Regions from separate parts of the Homo sapiens genome. Here region 2 is linked to region 1. Evidence: promoter capture Hi-C in human tissues and cell types (Jung and others, 2019). All regions are on one chromosome and are shown on one strand. The core of a region is centred on a gene start or on the middle of the fragment in contact, and the rest is flanking DNA. Distances in the headings are between cores, read along the strand shown.

Region 1 (3,998 bases), core at 301-2,800:
AAAGGCAACTATTTGCGGTGCAGGTGTGACCAGAAGTGGCTGAGGCACGGCAGCGATGACAGTGAGTAGCGGCGACGACACAGGCCGCGCCGGAACTTGCCGCTCGCGCGGGGCCGCAAAGGACCCGGGGGCTACCCCGTGCCTCCGGCTCCCGGCTCCGGGAAAGACCTTCTGTTCTCTGCCGGCGCGGAGGGCCGCAGGAACCAGGCCTCTCGCCTCCCCACCAGCTAGGCAGGGAGCGCCCATCTCCTGAAAAATTACTTCCTGGGAAGCGGTGCGGGGAGACAGCTTCAATTGCTTTCGGTTGGTGAAAAACGAATTCGCTTCTCAGATTGCTCTCCTAGCTGCCAGGCTCTGACGTTGAGAGGCCGGCTTTCAGCCTCGCGGTGAGCCCCCGCCTTGCCCCAGCCCCTTCCTCTTTACTCCTATCCTGTTTCCACAACCAGGGCAGCCGGACACTGCTGGGTTGGGTGCAGTTTCCTTTCCCTCCCTGCCTTTCTGCACCTACCTGGCGCCCCTAGATGCCTGCCCTTCCTTAACGAAGCGCGGGAAGTGAGGGGCTCCGGGGCTCCGAAGGCGATCTGGGGCCTGGGTCCGAGGCACCCATGTCCCTACTCGGCTTCCTCGATGTGCACTACCAAGGAGTCCTGGGTTCCCGGATCCCCTGCTGGAGGAGGATCTGTAGTGTCCGAAGCCCTGAGCAGGACTCAGCCTCGGCTCTCTAAGGATGGCGCTGGGAGCGCGGGCTCCTGGGGCGAAGATGGGCTCAGCGAACAGGGAAGGAAGGAGTGTACACTCCCAGGAGAGCTGGGTGGGAAAGATGCTTCAAACTGGACTAGAGAAGCACTGCTGTGAGGGATGGGCTCGGTAGCTCCCTGATGTAGTTTAGTCCGACCCGGGATAATCCAAGGCGCCGGGAACAGAGAGAAGGCTCCTGGGAGCGCTTGGAGGTAAGGCGGCCGGGTGAGAACCGGAAAGGAGAAAGGGGTGGGGAGCCAGGCTTACCTGCCCACTGGCCTTTCCACGCGTGAGCTTTGGTAGACTTCATCCATGGGAAAGGCAGCTGGACGCGGTTGGGCTCCTCCAGGACGCCCGGCTCGGCTCCCTCCGGGAAGGGCCCGGCGGGCGGGTGGGGGAGCGCGAGCTGAGCCGGGAGGTGGTGGTGAAGGTGCGCCACCGCGGGGTCGTCGGCGAGGGGGGGCACCTCGTACGGGGAGATGTCCGGGGGGCTGCCCTGCTCCAGCGCGCCCAGGGCGCCAGGGAACGGGTGCGGCGGCGGCGGCGGGGGCTGGCGGCCCATGTACAGGCACGCAGGGGGGCTGGCGCTGAACTCCGGCGCCGGGCCTCGCTGGAACGCGCATGGGTCCTTGTAAAGCTGCGTGGCCGCGTAGTACTGCTCCTCGCCGTTCATGGCTGCGGCCCGGGATTGGGCACCGGGAGCCGGGAGCCGGGAGCCGGGAGTCGGGAGCTGGAGCCGGGGATTTGGCACTGTGTGGCGTTCCCACTCCCGGCGCCACCCCTGCTCGCTTTGACAGCTCCGCACTGATCTCAGAGGGAACCCACAGCCAGCGCGGACCGGCGGGCCGGCCGCCGCACCATAGGCTCCGCGGGGCCCCACGTGGTTCAGCCGGGGGCCGTGATTGGCCTGGCTGGCCGCACTAAGAGGCTAGGCCCAGGTACCCGCGAGCACCTGCTTTTGTTCCAATTTTCTCTCTCAGCTGAGTTTGCTGCACACTCCTGAACGGGCAGCTGGCGGTGCTCCCCAAAATGGGCGCTCACGAAAACATTAGAACCACTCATTTATAGAAACATTTTCACCGTGGCTTAAAAGTTTCTATTTTCCTATATTTTTCTATTTTCTATTTTCCTATATTTTTTCTATTATATTTGATAATGGACATAGTGTGTTTGTTAATTGATGTAGTTTACAAGGAGACATGTTGAGTTTTTAATTTTTTATTTAACTGTTGCGGAATACGATAAAAAAAAAGTTTGCAGACCCAGCTCTCTAGGTCAGAAGCATTTGATTCTATTTTATTTATGAAGTTTGTTCACAGCCACAAAGATGTCGGTTAAAAAACACACGAAACTCTGGCATTCGTTGTGTGTTTTTACTTGTGGATGTGCTGCAAGTACTTCTGGGGTGTAAACGGTAACTTCTGAAGCATTCACAGAGACTTTTTTAAATTCTTTTTTTTAAAAAATTGAAGGGTATTACAAATTTGGGTTTTGGAAAATTGGGGCCCATTTGGCCAGCCCGGAACGTAGCTTCCCAATACAGCGAGGGGGAAAGACGCGGCCTTCCTCTTGGGGCTGCGAAGCAGGGGCAGGTGTTGGCACGGGGGTTCCAGACCCTTGACGACTCTCTACGGGCCGGGACCCTGGCGGAGTTTGCCGGCAGAGAACACTCACTCTCTTCTGCTTGCAATTGAAATAAGGCAAGCAGGAGAGGGGGAAGTGGAGGAAGAGTTACATATTTAGAAAAAGAAATAAAAACGCTGCATTTTCCATGATAACATCTGTGCTTGGCTTCAAACCATTCAGTAACTTCTGGGCATTCTGGGGTCCTGACTTAAACAGGGCCACTTTTTCTGCACCCACTGACGCGGATGGATGACCTCCGGGTGGCGGTGACGTCCAACCCCCTGCCTGGGCATGATCCGCTAGGCCTGGCGGCCTGACCAGCCTCTGACTGGATACTCCCGAAATGAGGACGTTTCTCGAAACGCCACCGTGGGTTTTAGAAAAACTAGACAGCTTTGCAGAAACGTCTCAGCAAGAGAGAGCTTGAACCACAAAGAACCAAGCCAGAGAAAAATCACTGCTCCGCCTTTCCTAAACAACGCACCAACATCCAGACCTTTGAGAGTCAATCTTAATGTATTTCTTTCTTCCTACTGGAAATATTTGTGTTTTAAGTGCGGATTGAGTGCTCTATTCTGAGGACTCTTTATTTTTATTAAAAGACAAAAAAGCCAGTCGGGAATGTGGACTTCTCTGCAGATTCCTTCTCTTGCGGGAGGCCGGTATAGTCTCAGCATTTGCTTCGATGTGTGAGAACTCATGTGTGTGGCTTCCTGGCCTGTGGCCTCATGTGTGTGGCTCTGATGTGTGGCTCCCTGGCTTGTAGATGCCCTTGCTGTCACCGAAGACAGGCCAAGGGAAGCACGGCGGCGGGCGGGGAGAGTTTCGGTGATTTCTTCAGGGAAAAGTGCCACCTGCAGTTTTGGTGGGGGCAGAGAGTGAAAGGCCGTGGGGCCCGGGCACCTAATCTCTGTGCGCCCGCGTCAATGAGTCCATTGTCTGCGGCCGCGGAGAACTCTACCCTATCACCCTGGCCGCGAGTGACCACATCGATCAGGAGGGCAGGCTGGAGGGGGTTGCCTGGCCGCGGCGTGTTGACCCTTGGAGATAATCTGCCGAGTCGCCGAGGGTTGACTTGGCGACGCGGTTATGAGCGGACGGCAAGCTCCGCTCAGGACAAAGATCGGCCACTTTTCCCCTCCCCCTCCTTTTCCTCCCCCTTCCCCTCCTCCCTGGGCACCCCTACACCCACTCTGGACTCAGTCTGCGCCCCACTCTCCCTCCCCTGCTCCCTGCCTCGCCTGCCACCCCCGGAGTGTTTACTTTGCACTTCTCAACTAATTGCACATTTCTGTAAATTGGTCTCCATTTCGATGCTTCATTTGCTTCCATTTAATATTTTTGCTCGGCCCTGCAGAAAGAAAAGAGGCTCTCAGCAGAAAGCAAATCCGCCGGTTGCGGTCGCCGGCAAAAACCCGGGTACCCGCGGCTGTGGGGGAGGAGGAGGGGATCGCCGGGGGTATTCCATGGAGGCGCGTTCTCACTTTCACAATTAGCATTTTCTGCTGCCTGCGACCTATAGAAGGGACCCAGGGAGCAAAGGTCAAACAACCATTTATTATTGTTATTATTATTATTAGATGAAACAAAGTTATCTGGAATTTTATCACGTACAGCCGTATAAAAAACGCATC
Region 2 (3,809 bases), core at 1,296-3,795, 46 kb after region 1:
TCAGGTCTTGGTCTCTTAGCGGCCTGTGTTCCTGTGCTGTGACCTTCACAAGGGCTTCTCAGTGCCCCTGCTTAGGCAAGACAAGAAAGCTACAGGGGGCTGGAGCTTGGCATTTCTCTTTCTCCAGGTGTGTTAGGCTCTGATAAAACCCAAGTAGGTTAGACTCTGGTAAAACATTTTCTCTTGAGGCAGACCATTGTTAAGGAGAACAGAGTGCTCTAGGCTTATTTCAAAATGGTTCTTTTCCCCTTTCCCGCTGAAAACCTTGTGGGACCCCTGAAGGCACAACACAGGACAGTATGGGGGCACCCCTGAACCTGGGCTTTCAGGAGTTTTATCTCTCAAGCTAGTTCTTGCTCAGTCTCCAGCAATTAGTCCTTTACCCCGTAAGTGTTGCTACCAGCTCCAGCTGCAGCTTCTGCTCCCTGTAAGGTATGGTTTTCTGTGTCTTCCTGTCTGCCTCTCTAGTTTTCAGGGTAGCAGTTTGTCCTGGGACCTCAACTGTCTGAAGAATTTAAGAAGAGTTGTTGGTTTTCCGTTTACTCAGCAACTTTCTTTTCTTTTCTTTTCTTTTTCTTGTTTTGAGATTGGGAGTGATGAGTTCTAAGCTCTTTACATGTCAGACTGGAAGCTGGGTGTCAGTGCCATTGATTTTTGCATGTTAATTTTATATCCTGCTATCTTATGAAATTCTTTTAATGTTTGGATTGTTTTATTATTGATTTTCTAGGGTTTTCCAGGTTTGCTATTATGTCATCAGCAAATAGAGAGAGTTTTAATTTTATTTTTTTCCCTTTTATGTTTAATTGTTTTCTCTACTCTAATTGTATTGAGTAGTACCTACAGAACAATGTTAAACCGTTGTGGAGACAGTGAACATTTTGCTTTGCTTCTGACATTAATAGGAATAGCTCTTGGGTTTCCCTATTAAATAAGATGTTGACTTTAGGATTGAATTTTGTGTATTTTGACACGCGTTTTCAAATGTGGTTTTAATTGTTTTTTACTATGGCAAGGTCAATAGATCAGGAGAAGACTGCCATTAAAAAGACAGTGTGGACCAGACACAGTGGCTCACACCTGTAATCCCAGAGATTTGGGAGGCAGAGGTGGGAGGATTACTTGAGGTGAGGAAGTCAAGACCAGTTTGGGCAAAATAGTTAGACTATGGTGCTTTAAAAAAAAAAAAATTAGCTAGGTGTGCCTGTGGTCCTAGCTACTCAGGAAGCTGAGGGGGGAGGATCGATTGAGTTCACCACTCCATTCCAGCCTGGGAGACCCTGTCTTTTAAAATAAATAAATAAATAATAAGAAAAGAAAAGAAAAAAATTATATCCATAGATTGCAAAAGGATGGGGTACACTATACCACACGGGAAAACACCAAGCCCAGACAGGAGGCAGCAGGGGAGGAGGAACTGTGGGCTGGAACCTTTATTGTGGTTTCTATGAGAAGGAATGGACAAGGCAGGGCAAACAGGCTGAGGCTCAGGATTGGCTGGTTTGAATAATTGTACCCTGAGGCATAAGGGCTGCCCCTAATTGTCTGGTACTTGGCCCTGGGGTGATTAGGGCAGGTGGATGGTGGCCCAGAATGTGAAAGCCTGATAAAGGAGGAGGTCTTGCAGGTGAATTGTTAGCTATGTCTAAGAATTAGCTCACCGTGGAATGGGTAGTGCCTCCAGGGTCAGCAAAGCTCCAGATGTCAAAGCATGAAAATAAAGCAAATAAAAATGATGAGTTCATGTCCTTTGTAGGGACATGGATGAAGCTGGAAACCATCATTCTCAGCAAACTATCGCAAGGACAAAAAACCAAACACCGCATGTTCTCACTCATAGGTGGGAATTGAACAATGAGAACACATGGACACAGGAAGGGGAACATCACACACTGGGGACTGTTGTGGGGTGTGGGGAGCGGGGAGGGATAGCATTAGGAGATATACCTAATGCTAAATGACGAGTTAATGGGTGCATTATGTATACATGGCACATGTATACATATGTAACAAACCTGCACGTTGTGCACATGTACCCTAAAACTTAAAGTATAATAATAATAAAATAAAAAAGAAAATAAAAATAAAAAAAAGAAAAGAAAGCAAATAGAAAGGAATGGTTAATGTAGCAGGTTAAGGAAACATTATTCCTTTTCTGTTTTCTCAAGAAGTTTTATGAATGGGTGTTGAATTGTATCAAAGTTTTTTCAGCATTTATTGAGATAATCAAATGCTCTATCTTCCTAGATCTATTAGTAAATATTATGAATTAGATTAAAATATTTTCTTTCTTTCTTTTTTTTTTTTAAAATTTGAGATAGAGTCTTGCTCTGTCACCCAGGCTGGAGTGCAGTGGCATGATCTTGGCTCACTGCAACCTCCACCTCCCGGGTTCAAGCAATTCTCCTGTCTCAGCCTCCCGAGTAGCTGGGACTACAGGTGCACGCCACCACACCCACCTAATTTTTGTATTTTTAGTAGAGACGGGGTTTCACCATATTGGTCAGGCTGGTCTCGAACTCCTGACCTCAAGAAATCCACCCGCCTCAGCCTCCCAAAGTGCTGGGATTACAGGCATGAGCCACCACACCCAGCTGATTAAAATATTTTCTAATATTGACCCATTTTCTGTTTCATGGAATAAATTTGGTCATACGGTATTAATTATTTTAATATGTCCAGACCCACTTTTTATATCAATGTTTTGCAAGGCCCGCTTTACTATTGTGAAATTATATTTACAGACAATATTATCTACCTGTATCTCAATAATAATACCATCAAAATATATTGCACTAAATTTAAGAGGGAGGATAAAGAGAAACTAATTTGTTATGAACTGACATGTAATTTTATAAATGTTTTTATAAACATTCTGTAAATGCTTGAGCATGCCTACACTAGAAGATTCCATTTTTTAAGCCAGATTCTTGCACTTGTTCTTAGAATTATTATGAATGGGACAGCTACAAAAACAGATGGGTAATGATGTGTTGTATTGGCAATGTCAATGGCGTAAATATGTCACCATCGGTGACATTGTTTTCCAAACTGTTGAACAATTCTTGTTAATATCCAAACAAATCAAAGTGCAATTTTTGCCTTAATTTACACTATAGTTGCATGCCTAGAAATCTCAGTGTATATCAAATTGATGCAAAAATGTGTACATGTCTGGAGGAAAGAATTAGGTTCTAAACAGAGAAAACTGTGAATATTTTCCACTCACATAAATGTTCAGTATGACATTCATCATAATGCAAGACTGTCTTATGATTTATAAGACATCTGGCATCCCTGGCACTCCCCCACCAAATGCCAGTAGTAGCCCCCTCACCAATTACTTCAATCACCAAACATGCCTTCACCTTGCAGACAATCACTCAACTAGATCACCTCTGTTGGCTCAGTCAGTGGTATTTCAGTTCTGCAAATACAGTTTGTGTCAGGGACATGTCTTTTATGCAGATGACTGAAAAATAGCTGAAACTTATGGACAAATGTTCATCTTCACAGGTAGTAAAAAAAGTAAATAAAAACAAAAACATACTATTTCCCTCAAACCAATTAATTATTGATCTACAAAAGTAACACTGGATAGTGCAAGGTATGAAATGGGCACTCTCACTTATTTTAATTGTGATTTAAATTTTAAAACAACTTGGCAAAAGTTATTCAATGCATCCATAGTCTTAAACTAAGTTATTCCATTTCTTGGGGTCTTTCCTAAAAAGACAATTTAACAAATACAGAAACTTATGCCCAAAATACCATTACCAACAATAAATGGTTAGGAATATAATTTTAAA

The links. Contacts are between HindIII fragments. The study calls those that stand out against the background at their distance.
Region 2: a fragment that was not itself captured here is called in contact with the fragment with the promoter of PDX1 in region 1 in 3 of the 25 tissues and cell types used here (liver, pancreas and stomach).

Annotation. Positions count from the first base shown.
Region 1 is chr13:27,917,552-27,921,549 of GRCh38, reverse strand. It overlaps PDX1 (pancreatic and duodenal homeobox 1), which reads right to left and starts at 1,550. Exons shown (of 2, transcript NM_000209.4): 1 at 1,006-1,550. The coding sequence starts at 1,411. The HindIII fragment of the contact is 14,480 bases long and covers 1-3,998 here.
Region 2 is chr13:27,872,859-27,876,667 of GRCh38, reverse strand. The region is part of intron 1 of PLUT (PDX1 associated lncRNA, upregulator of transcription); the gene reads left to right. Among named protein-coding and RNA genes, the nearest start is that of PLUT, 43 kb to the left of the region's middle. The HindIII fragment of the contact is 7,641 bases long and covers 1-3,809 here.